2 separate regions of the Homo sapiens genome follow, and region 2 is linked to region 1. The links are contacts of gene promoters, found by promoter capture Hi-C in blood cells and fetal thymus (Javierre and others, 2016). All regions are on one chromosome and are shown on one strand. The core of a region is centred on a gene start or on the middle of the fragment in contact, and the rest is flanking DNA. Distances in the headings are between cores, read along the strand shown.

Region 1 (6,365 bases), core at 2,628-5,127:
TTTGTATTTCTTCCAATATTGTCTTCATTTCTGTCATGGTTTGCTTTTCTTCTTCTTTCTGCTAAAAAAATCAACTAATTTCATCCTCCTCATCTCTCTCTTGAGTTTCTTCATTTGTGCCTTTTGGTTTTCCTTAATAGATGATGTTTATTTCTTAACATATCAACAAATATGCTTAATTTAGAGAAACTATGCTGCTTATGAATAAGAGCAAAGACTCTAGAACAAGATTAACTGTGTTTAAATACGGGGTCTTCCTCTAACTGTGTGATCTTGAGTGTTACTTAACTTGTCCCTTAGGTCTTTAAATCTATATAATGGTAATAATAATAACAATATCTAATTTACAGAGTTGTGTTGAGAATCAGTTGAGTTCATATCTCTACAAAGTGGTAAGAATATTGCCTGGCAACAGTAAATACTATGCTAAAGTATTATTAGTTTTTTTCTTGCATTTCGAAATTTATAGTCACAATTTTAATTGTCTCTGTGACAACACTTTTTCCTCTCATCTATTAAAAAGTTTTGATGCTAATTTTCTGAATTTTAAAAATAGTATGTCTGTATCTGTGTTATGCCAGTTTCTTCTTTATCACTGCTCACTATTGAATGAATTATTTTTCTGGTCAAATTCCTTAGAGAAAGTTCCTGAAGTGGAGGTTGCAAAGTGGCTTTCCTGTTCTCAAAACAAATAGCTCCCACTTAATGATCCCCAATAATTGACACCTCCCTCTACCCATGCCCATAAAATACTCCCACATTGACTCTGGACTTAGCTACATGACTTGCTTTAGCCAACGGGACATTAACAAACACAACACATACAGAAGCTTGAAACTTGAAAGTGTGTGAACACTACAGCATGAACACTAGGCTGCCATTTCTCTTGCTACTGGGAACATGTCTACCTCCATGTGAAAAAGCCTGACTAGCTTCCTGGGAAAAGGCCCTAGGTGTCCAAGCCATCCCTTCCAGAGGCCCAGATTTGTGAGTAAGACCTGCTGATACCGCATGGGGCAGAGATTAGCCATTGAGCCCACACAGCTGAGCCCATCCCAATTTTCCATCTCACTAAATTGTAGGCAAATCACTGGTAGCTTTTTAAACCATTGTTTCGGGTGGCTTGTTATGCAGCAATAGATTATGGATTCACTTTTACTGTTGCCTCACAAACAGACTGCTTTTAGTAGTTATGGCATCTTTGTATACTCACTTCCTCTGAGACTCTGAAGGGAATTATGTCCAGAAGATCCTTTTCCAGTAGTTCTCTGCTCCCCAGTTCTTAAAAAGAAGGAACAGGACTTTTACATTTCATAGTGATTTGACCATCTTCAAGCACTAAAGTTTTGCTGACCCTGAGATCTGCTCCTACCATGTTTCTGGGAACTCCCTGTTCTCCTTTTGTCATCTGTATGTATGTATCTCTTTTGCCTTCTTCCTTCTGCTTCTGCTCCAGTTTTTGAGAGACAGCTTTGCATTTTACGACACACCTCTCATTTCCCAGAAAACATACTTTTGCTGGCACTTTCTGATACTTCTAGTGCTGGTTCCCATTGCCTCTCCCTGGGCCTTTTCCATATGACTTCTGCCCAAACTCAGCTGCTTTTGGTAACCTTTAGAAGCGCTTTGGGGTTTGTAGGTAAAATCTATATAAATTTGTTGAAAATGGTGTTTGACAGTTTTTTTCCATTCTCTTTGTTAGTTTATGTAATTTTTAGAAAGAGATGAGAAAGATGCTTAAAAAGCTGACATCATTTTCTACTGGAATCCGTATATAATTCTTTTTGCAGTAAGAACTCTTTGGACACATTTTTCTGAAGATGATGTAATAACCTTGGGAGGCTTAGTAATTATTAATACCTTTCAAATTTCTCATATTCAAAAAGGGGCAGCATGATGCTCAAATTGGTTCTTTTTTTCCCCTAGATTGAACTACAATTTAGATTCCTTACACTCTCTTTAGGCAATGGTTGCCTTATATTTAATACATCTAACTAATCCTAACTGTAGTTCAGAAAAAGAGATTCCATTATCATCATTTTACAGATGAAAACTGTGAGAACAATGACTACATTGCGGATTTTGTTGGCTTCCTTTCAGGTGCTTATTGCCTCACTATTATTAATTTTGGCTTTGGGCTCAATTTCAAGGTTATGGATGAGGTAGATGGTATAGTGTAAGCAACAGGTCCAAAAAGGCAGAATAACCAGCGAACACTTGGTAGCATCTCAGATGTGGGGAAATAGGTGTTTTATACTCCAAACGCTAGTGTTTGAATATGTTTCCTCCAAAACCATGAAGGGGAAAGTTCATTAAGTTCCTACACTGATAAGCTCTTAGACATGCCTTTCAATGTACAGGCATGTAAAGCTATTTTGGGTGAATGGGTGAATAGTAGGTTATTAGGTTATTGCCCTTCTTTGGGAGGTCCCTATTTGTCCTTTAATACACAGTTCAGATGGGATTTAAATTCCCTGACCTGTTCCTTCTCTTACATAGAAAAAATTGCTTCCACTTATGCAATTGGCATGTGCTTCTGTTGTGAAATACTTGTGTTGTTTGTCTCGGGCTTTCATAGTTGGTTCTCCTATTAGGCAGTGAGCTCCTTGGGTGCAGAGACTATGTCCTAATCGACTCTGCATCCTTAGCTTCTGCAAAGTGCTCAGTGCACAGTAGGTGTGCATGATGTTTATTGGAATAAATCGAGAAACAGGCGAATGTTGTCTATTAAAGTCATTTTGGTCTCTAGCTACTGTAGTAGTTGGATAGGCAAAGTTACTTCATGCCTATCTTCCTCCTCTTTTCCTTGCCAGCTTCCTTCTTTTTTTCTCTGACTGAAAGGGCTGGACAACCGGGGAAAAGGAAACTTGTGCTTTCCAGCATACCTCTCCCACTCTACACACACACACACACACACTCTCTCTCTCTCTCTCTCTCTCTCTCTCTCGCTCTCGCTCTCGCTCTCTCTCCATCCTGTTGCATTTTTAAAGCAGGCTCAGTCAGGTTACTGAGTGCCTGTTGCTCCATCACACGAATTCCCAAGTTGTGGGACTCACCTTCAGGGGTGTCTTGGTGGAGCACCTCTTGGGAGGTGATCTGACCTGTTGGTTCAGGAGCACTGCGCGTATTCACTCTGGCGCTCCTTTGTGCAACAGGAGACCAGAGGACTCCCACGGTCCCACTGGCTCCTTCCACGTAATGTGCCCCGCTGGCTCTCTCGCCTCCCCCAACCCGGGGGTCTGCGTCCCCTGCGCCCCAGTCCCTCTTTGTGCAGCCAGTAGCTGCAGAGCTCTTCGTCTTGTATTCATGGCAGATGCACAGCGAGTGACTGACACGTTCCAGGGACGGCGAATGGGAAAGAGCGCGGGCGGCCGGGGGAGGGTGTGTAGTGGCAGACGGCCGCTGGGATTATGAATGGGGGCTGGGGGGCCGGCGAGTGTGGGGTTCAAACCAGGATTTTCGGTCTCTGGCTTTGGATAGGCACGCAGGGCTGTGCGTAATCCTTCAGCTCTGGTGGTAAGGGAGATGCAGTGAGCTCCCGGCTGGGAGAGAGGGTTATTTTGCAAAACTCCCCTGGTACCGTGCCCGCGGAATATTGCAGGAGGTCTGTGAGGTAGGTGGGGGAAAAAATAACCTGGGAGGGCAATCAGGGAGAGGCCAGACGACTGGGGACGGCGTGCTTTGCACCCTAGAATTGACAGGTGGTGGCCTCAGCAGTTACAACCTACTACACAGCATCTCGTCCGTGCGATACGGTCACATTGTTATTCCCCGCACCCGGCTGAGGAGCGCAGCGCGGCAGACCAAGTGGCACCGGCGAGCTGTCTCTCTTCCGGGGGGCGGGGGTGGACAGTAGGGAGAGGGGGTTTAAAGGGCCAGAGGACGAGAGAAGAGCTGAGGGGCGCGTCGCCAGCGCCTGTGTCTCCCTGGCGCGGGTTCCCCAGGCTAGCCCGCTGGCCCGTCCGCGCGCGCGCCCCCGGCCCGCGCGCCCCTTCCCGGGGCTCCTGGCCTCGCCTCAGCGGCTGCAGGCTCTTCGTCGCGGGCCGGGCTGCACGCGAGCGCCCTCCGGGCAGACTTTCGTCCCCCACCCCCGGGAGCGCGGAAGGCTCACTCGCAGCGCATGGTCTACCCGCGCCGGGCGGAGCCCCGGCGTCCAGAGCGCTGCGGCCGCGGCGGTGCAGCAGAGGCGCCTCGGGCAGGAGGAGGGCGGCTTCTGCGAGGGCAGCCTGAGGTAAGGGCTGCCTAGGAGGCTGCGGGTTTATTTTTCCTCATTCTCTTACTTCATCACACACTGAAGCCTCAATGGAGAGTGTAGGGTGCTGTGGGGCTGATGTGGGGCAAAGAGGGAATGGGGCCGCCGGGCCTGGATGGTCGTCTTGACGGCGTCATTGTCGCCCCTTGTAGGAAATCCGCCAACCGGCCCCTAGCCTTTCGCCCTCATCTTCTCTGCTTCGGCTTCCGCCCTTGGACCTCTTGACAAGTCACTGGGGAGGAGAGGATGGAGAGAGGCTAAGGGAGAATGGAGAGAGGCAGAAGGATTCAGGGCTTGGAAGCCCTGGAGTAGGTGACGGATGGGCGCGCGGTGCCCAGTGATTGACTGCAGGCAGCGGGCGCGGAAGGGAACCTGAACTACCCAAGAGTTTGCTGGGCTGAGGCTCCAGGATGCTCCTGCGTGCCCTGGTGGCTGGGGCACCAAGGAGGGGCGCACTCAAGCCTCGGCATCACCAAGGCTCTGCCAGGAACTTTTGGGAAGATTTGTCTGGTGTTTGGTGAGGGGGCTTGGACCTTTCTAGCTACAAGAGTGTGTTGGGGAAGGAAGAGGCTCTCCTCCTTTCTCCTGTCACTTTCCTTCATGCCTACTCTCTTCTTCCATCTTCCTGTTTTGCCTCCTTCCTTCCCGTTTTTCACAGGCCACCTTCCTTGTGCGGTACTTCAAACACAAATCGGAACCCACTATGGCCAACAGCTTTAAAGCGTGTATAAGGAGGAGCGCACAGAAGAATCGCTCTTAATTACAGTAGTTATATATGTGTGTGTGTGTGTCTGTGTGTGTCACACACGTGCCTGGGATAATTTTTAGCAAGACTTTGAGACGGTCACCTAAAATTACATTGTACTTACATTAGGTTTACATCATAATTATATGATGCCACTGAACAGAAATGGTAACTCTATGCATTCTGCATCTTAGATCTGAGATATAACTGTTCTTTGAATCACATGCATCGTTTAATTTCAAAGATTTCCAGCTGCTGGAAAACTCTTGGCTAAGTTATAAGAATGAAAGGCACATTAAGCATAAAAAAAGTAATAAATGTCCAGATACTATTTTTATTAGTAGATCATACTCCCCCTCCGTTTCCTTTTGCCAAAAGCTGTTATTATACCAATTATATTCATAAAAACGAAACAAATTTGGAGATTTCAGTGTTTTTACCTACAACCTGAAGTGTAGGTAGGGGTCTAGAATTTATCTGTACATGAATTCACAAGAAGATAGATAAGGCCAATGATTTCACTGCAGGTAAAGGAAGTTGAGCTTCTTCTCTCTCAGGATACCTCATTTCTTGGTATCCCAAGAGAGAAATCCCCTTAATGTCAATAAATATAGCATTGGTCTCTTCAGCTCTTCAAATCAATACTTGTAGGACTTGACTGTAATATGTTTGCTGGCTGTTTCTATTCTTTTTCATTTTCTAAACAACAACGTGCCAATTTTGTTAATTTACAAAAAATAAGTAAGATTGTTAAATGGACTGGAATTTATGAGATGGCATGATCGATGCATTGAGGCTGTTTATCTATATATCTATCATCTTTCTATTTTTCTTGTTACAGTTGGGAGCTAAACAATGTTGCAGTGTGTCTACTTGTATTTTTATCAGCTGATTTGCTTTTCAGTTTCTTTATGGCTTGACATATTTTGCAAAAATGAATTGTCTTAAATTTCTCTAGAGAGTAACCTGTTAGACATACTGTTTGCTTTCAAAATAGGACTGTTTTTTGATTTGAGGAATAAGAAATCAATCATACATGGTTTTCTGATCTTGGAGTCCTTTGCCTGTCTAGAGACAGGTATTTAAGTATTTAACAGTAATAGTTACTGTGTATGTACAAATAAAGGCTTGTTTGATAAAGATACTGGACACAGAAATAATAATTCCATTTTGGTTTACAAATGCAATATTTAAAATTGTGAAGAAATAAAGAGTTCTAGGTTACTCCTAATATCTTACTTGACTTAATTTGGCTAAGGAGCAAGAGGTATATGAAGAGGTCTTCAGTTAGAAAGATTTGGTGGTTAGTAATTTATTATCATGTCATACAATTTCACCCATTTCTATTTCCAAAAACCTTCAAACAGC
Region 2 (6,420 bases), core at 95-2,594, 450 kb after region 1:
GCTGCTAGTATGAGTGATTGTCCACCTGCCTGTCTGCCTGCAGTCTTTGAAAGGCAGCCCCATCCCAGACCATTAGCCTACTGAGAAAATTCATCTACAGTACCTTGAAAGACCAAACATATTGGATTGTTATAGCTTTTCTTTGGCCTTTTACCCAGACATTATCATTTTCTGCTTCTTATCAGACACCTGGAGTTTGTGGGTTGTCTAAAAGCAGCTTCTGTGAATGGTCTCTGGGGAAGCCTTATAACCCTGCCTTCTGTCATTTCTTCTCCTCATGTTTCAAGGAAACCTACAGCTTCAGGGTAATTTGCTGCCTCCCCGTTTTCATTCAAGAGAGCAGCCAAGGTTGCTTATAGTCTAACTGGCTCTTTATGTACCAAATTACTTTTGGTTGAATTCAGAGACTAAAGAGGAATTTCACTCAGTTATCTATTGGGCCATTCTGGAGTTCTGTCATTAGGAAAGTCTGAGGTTGTAAAGAAATTAGTTGCAAGACATGAGTCTTCCAATTCTGCTCTGCAAGTTACTAGCCTATGACTCTGAGAAAGGTATTTACATCTTGCTAAGCCTCATTTACCTCAAATGTAGAGTAGGATCATTTTATATACTTCACAGGGTTGTTAGGAGTAAATGGAATAATGTATTGGGAAGCACTTTGTAAAGTGAAGAAATATAAGCAAAATCCACCCAAAGTGAGCTGGTTGTAAGAACTAGTGAAAGGAAAGAACCAAGAATGTAGACATAAATCATGGCCGCTGAATTGGTATACAGGAAATTCACTGTTGTGGTCTAATTTGAAAAAAGGAGCATCCTCAGCCCCATATCTTTTGTTCACCATCTCTCTGCAAAGCTTTAGCTGGGGAGCAGTGAGAGTTCTGGAGAAATACTAGGGAAGAGGATTACTGTCAATTTGAGGCTAAGAGAGATTGTGTGTGCAGGAAAAAATGCATATGTAATGATAAAGGAGAATGTGAAAAGGGCACAGTGCCCAGGGAAATACCAGGAGCGTGGATACAGAAAACAAGAGACAAAATCTCTACTGCTCCCGTCTGTGTGTTCATTGATCAGAGCATGTTCAAATAATTCTGGGCTTGAGGGCACCTTTCTAGAGTGACGAAGACCGATAGGAAACCTCATGACACTCCTCTGTGGGAGCCAGTGAATGCATCCTCCCCCAGAGACAAAGCTCTGCAGCCTTGGAGAGTAATTTGGTGTTAGCAGATTAATTAAGTCATTTTCTGTGGTTAAATTTGCAGATGAATATTAAATCTCAGGCTGGGCCTCCCATCTAATAACCCAGTGGAGGTTGTCAGGATAACACTTTGTTCCTGAAACATTTAGAAATACGTGTATTGTATATTTAATGAGACTGTGATATTTATTCATGACAGGAAGAAGTCTTCCAGACAGGAAGACTTTACTCATGTGATAGTTCAGGGTCTGACACCTAGAGCTGTGCTGAATGCCCCCTCTAAAGTTGCTTATTATCACCAAGTTGTTGTATGCCTGGCACCAACGCCGAATTTGTCCAAGTTACTCATGTCACTGAAAGGCCATGGAGTTTGCTCCTGGGTTCAAATTCTGGCTCCATTATTTGCTAATGGTGGGCATGGGTAAATAACTGAACTTCAGTGCGACTCAGTTTCCTATACATAACATGAAAATAATAATGACTGCAACTCTAAGCTGTGTTGAGGATGAAAACTTTCCATAGTACATACAGTTTTATGTAAAATGCTTAGTGTATAGTACCTGCCACACGTTGGTTCTCAGTGTATACTATGTGTCCTCCTCCATGGTTATCATGTGACCAGAGTTTCCCACTTTCTCTTTAAGCTTTGATGTGGAAAATGGCCCTTCCCCAGGTCGGAGTCCACTGGATCCCCAGGCCAGCTCTTCCGCTGGGCTGGTACTTCACGCCACCTTTCCTGGGCACAGCCAGCGCAGAGAGTCATTTCTCTACAGATCAGACAGCGACTATGACTTGTCACCAAAGGCGATGTCGAGAAACTCTTCTCTTCCAAGCGAGCAGTAAGTACAAGCTCTGTCTGGCTTCCAGTTTCACATTTACCTCATCTCTACCCAGGTCACAGTGGCAGCAACAACAATTCCCCATTAATCTATGGTAAGGATGAAGGAAGAAAATGAATATGAGCAGGGGTGACGTGATGACCATTTTAAGGACATTAATGCTCTATAGCATGCGGAATATGTAGCTGGGGTCTCCAAGGGTTTTGGAAAACCTAGACACAGTGTTTACTTTACATCTTTTACTGATACCTTAAAAAAATTATTTTGCTTCATTTCCTGAACTGTTGAGTCATTTATGGCATGAGAACCTTAACACTTTTTATACATCACACTTGAAATTTCAGCTGTGTGTGCAGTTTTCATGAGGCTCCAGCAAAGAGGAAAAATGGTGATTGGTTATATGCATGCTGTCTCAGTAGCCTTTGCTTGGTGACTTTAATAAGATGTCATTCAGACACATGCCTGTGTCCCTTCTCTGAAACTTTAACACAATGCCCACTTGTTGCCTGGCTCCTTGGTGAGACACAACACACTCCACCGCCCTGTAAAGCACTGCTGATATTTTTGTTTTGCCGCTATTAATTGTAAATCTCTAAATTTTATTTAAAGAACAAGATCTAGGTTGTGTCACCCATTTATTAAATTTCCAAAACCAAATAAAATTGGATTCTGGAATTCATGCCTTAAAAGGTTTCTGGGCACAGATACAATTGTTTTTATATTATATGTCATAAAAGTATCAGTAGCTCCCTAAGGTCTCCAGTTTGGAAAATTCCACTCTGTTCTCTTCTGCTATTGGAAGGGAAGTCAAAAATTTCACCCTCTGGTGAAAGGGGGAATTTTGAAGCTACCAGCAAAAAAATATTCCTTGAGGCATTTCTGCCAGCACATTTTAATAGACGCACCCCTGCCCTAAAATATCTCAATCATTGTGTGGGCCCAAATTCATTTTTCAGTCATTTGGCAAAATTTACTGATTCTCTCCTTTGTGCCACACATTGTGTCAATCTCTGGTGATAAAAGACAAACAAAACAGTGTAAAAATCACAGATGAGTTAAAAGCATATCTCATTCTCAAAAAATGTGCATGCTGTCAGGGAGGTTACAGCTAAATAAGAAAGATAAGAGGAACACACACATACAAACATAACAGAGTGAAAGGAAATAACATTTAATGAGCACTTCCCATGGAGCCGAGCTCATGTTCTTATGTTATCTCTGTTAATCTGTCAGGTAGGTGTCTTTATTATCCCCACTCCATAGATGATGAAACTGGGACTCTGAGAGATTGAGAAACTTGCCCCTATCCCATGACTGTGTATCATGCTGTGTCCCATGATGTGGCTAAGCCTGACCATATTAAAAACTTTTGGAATCTTTCCATCCATGTTCTTCAAATTGCAAAGTGGCATCTCTACCACTAGGTAGAAAACAAATGACTGCAGAGTAGAGGTGTCCAAGGCTGCAGGAGAGGTAGGTAGCCAGCAACTTTGCTGTAGATCTTGTAGAACCCAAGGCATTTCTGACAAAAGTTTGAATGGGGGTCTTTGAATGCAAAGATATTGGGAATTCTTTCCTTCACCAAGATAAACACCTTTCTAGGCTTCATCATGGAAGACCGTAGGTCATGTGGTGAGCTCAAAGTAATTAGAGCTTAATTCACATAGTATTTTACAGGTGCAAGATTAGCTTTGAAATCTTGTCATTCCCCAAAAACTAATTCCCTGGCTAAGAGCTCTCCAGACTCAAGCCAAACGGCAGGAAGAATCTCAAGGTCATTCAGAGTCGCCCCAGAAAACTCTACTGCACTTCCAGATTAAATCTTGTGTTTCATTATTTGGAATCAAAAGGTTGTAGAAATGTTAAATTTGAAGAGACCTTAAAGATCACAATCCAACTGAATCTACGGCAGTCAAAAAAGAGGTGTAGTTCTAAATGACACCGCATCCAGCATCCCTGTTACTGGTAGTTTACTGTCCTTTCAATTTTACTGGCCAGTAAAATTCCCCACCACCCGCCCCACCCCCTGCCCCCAGTAACTTTAGAACCTAAATTTTCCAACTTTAAATTTAGGCAAGTAAAAATTATATATGTAAATTATTTAATATCATTCTCACTTTTTAAAGATAAGGACTTAGATAAAAAGTAGTATGGGCACAATTTCATAATAAAAAGCAGCCTTTCCCAAGAAAACAAGGTTGGCAACATAATACCACCCTATCAAAAATACTGATAACAGGATATATTAAAATCTTTGTGTGAATGAAAATAGCACAAGATTTTGTTTTCCAAATATTTCAGTACCACAGAAAAAAACTTTTATATATTTGTCAGTTTTGGAATTATATTTCACAACACGCTGAGAAGTAGAGTTTGAATAATATTAAGCTTCTTCTAGTAATTTAGTTTTAAGTTGGCAAATCCAGTTTCACATAAATATCTGAATCTGAACTAAAGTAATGCTCTTAAAGCTATTTCATATGATTATTAACTCTTTAAGATGAATCGAAACAGAGGAACAGCAGCTCCCCACACTTCCCGCCCCTTTTTTTGCCTTCTACCCATAGATCCAGGAAGCAAGAAGGGTGCTAATAGACCAAGAGTCTAGATGTGAAGGCCACTGGGTGGGGGCTGCCGGATGTTCCCTGCTCACAGACCTCATACCCAGCACAGAGCTGTCATGAATTTTTTATGAATGGTGGAAAACTTTGCATAATTCTACTGCATTAAATCCTAGTAATAAAGGAAACACTAGCTTTTAAATTTTTCTCATCTGAATTTTTTCAGAAGAGTAACAGAAAATTATAGTCAGGGGAGAGTGAGTGAAAAGATATTAAGAGTAAAAATGTGAACAAGAAAAATTAAAAGTAGCTTTAACTTTGAGCAACAAAGGAGAGGATCAGAATAAGGCTTTATAGTGAAGTAAAGCAAGATCACCATTGGGTCCCAAAAGGCAATTTCAGATGCTTTCCTAGATGTGGCAATAGTTTGCTGGTTTCTGTTCAGTTCCTGTGTTGTAGTCATCCCAAACGTAATGCCTTCGTATACTGAGGTACAGATTGCCTCATGGGAACATAAAGTACTGGAAACTAGTAAGGCCAGTTTTACTGCTGAAAACTGTGGCAGGAACCACCATGGACAGAATGGAGTTTTGATTATCCACCTGCAAAGCCACAGGAAAGGAAACTCCATGTTTTTTTTCATTTGGTCATCCCATTTTGCAAAGCCTTACACAGACAAGAAGCTTTTGAAAGCCACCATTTACGTGTGGACTAAGTAGTCTCTAGAGAGAGCCTACTCATTTTCAAGGGAAATGAGACCTAAGAACCAAGAGGAAAAGCAGAAATAATAATCCACTTAAATTTAAAACCTGTTTATTGATGGACTAGCAAAAAGTGCAGTGTGGTTTCTAAGACTTGAGTTAGACTTACACCATCACACTTACTAGCACCATGGCTTTTAAGACATTGAATCTCTTTTATTGTCTCTAAATTATCTGTAAGTAAAAGCACACATTTATTGAGTATTTTCTGTATGCTATCTGTTAAAATACTTTACATATGTTAATTCATTTAATCTCCATATCCCCAATGTGGTAGGTACTATAACTTTCTTGTTTTAATGATGAGGATATTAGGGCACAGAGAAGTTAAGTGACTTCTCCAATAAATGGGAACAAGACGAACCCAAGAAGTCTAGGAGGTAAACTATATGGATATCCAGTATGTAAACAGACTCTAAGTGAGGCTGAAAAATACAAAATAATGCTATTAATTTCTGTTCTGCCTACCTTTCCAGCTGTTAGGAGGATCATATTCATTCTCTCTTTTAATAAGTATGTAAATTTAGGAACTTTGTGAACAAATAAGACAGTTTCTGTGTCTTCAAGGGTACGGAAACATTAGAAGTCAATAGGCAATTTTAGCAGTTTCAGATAAGGGCAGGCATAGAGAGCTATGCACTGGTTTGAAAGGTCTGGCCAGGCAGGAAAGCAGCCTACTCTGAGGAGGTTACAGCTCAGCTAGAGGAGTCAGGCAGGCAGAGGAAGTGCAGGAGAGGCCAGGTGCTAACTAATCCTCCAGTTAGTGTGGGAGCATTTTGGAGAACCACAGCTCAGTGTGGTTGATCCAGAGGATATGAGAGGATGAGGAAGTGGTGAAAAACAAGACTGGAAAAGTGAGCAGGAACCTCATCATGAAGGGCCTATGTTAAGGAATTGGCCTTTATGTTGCAAGTGGAGAGTTACTAAGCAGATAAACATATAATGCAACATTTTAAAAAAATAGCTCTGATTGCAGTATAGAAAATGGTTTAAAGGGTAGGGAAGCTTAAAGGCTAGTACTCAAACCTACAGAGCCAAACAGGAGGCTGCCATGATATTCATGT

The links. The method cuts DNA at HindIII sites, captures the fragments that hold promoters and counts their contacts. A CHiCAGO score of 5 or more calls a contact.
Region 2: a fragment that was not itself captured here is called in contact with the fragment with the promoter of PDE4B in region 1 in 1 of 17 cell types (M1 macrophages); the score reaches 5.7 in M1 macrophages.

What each region holds. Positions count from the first base shown.
Region 1 is chr1:65,789,018-65,795,382 of GRCh38, forward strand. PDE4B (phosphodiesterase 4B) reads left to right here and starts at 3,878. Exons shown (of 17, transcript NM_002600.4): 1 at 3,878-4,231. The HindIII fragment of the contact is 11,219 bases long and covers 829-6,365 here.
Region 2 is chr1:66,245,621-66,252,040 of GRCh38, forward strand. PDE4B (phosphodiesterase 4B) reads left to right here. Exons shown (of 17, transcript NM_002600.4): 4 at 1,840-2,034. Among named protein-coding and RNA genes, the nearest start is that of PDE4B-AS1, 200 kb to the left of the region's middle. The HindIII fragment of the contact is 986 bases long and covers 852-1,837 here.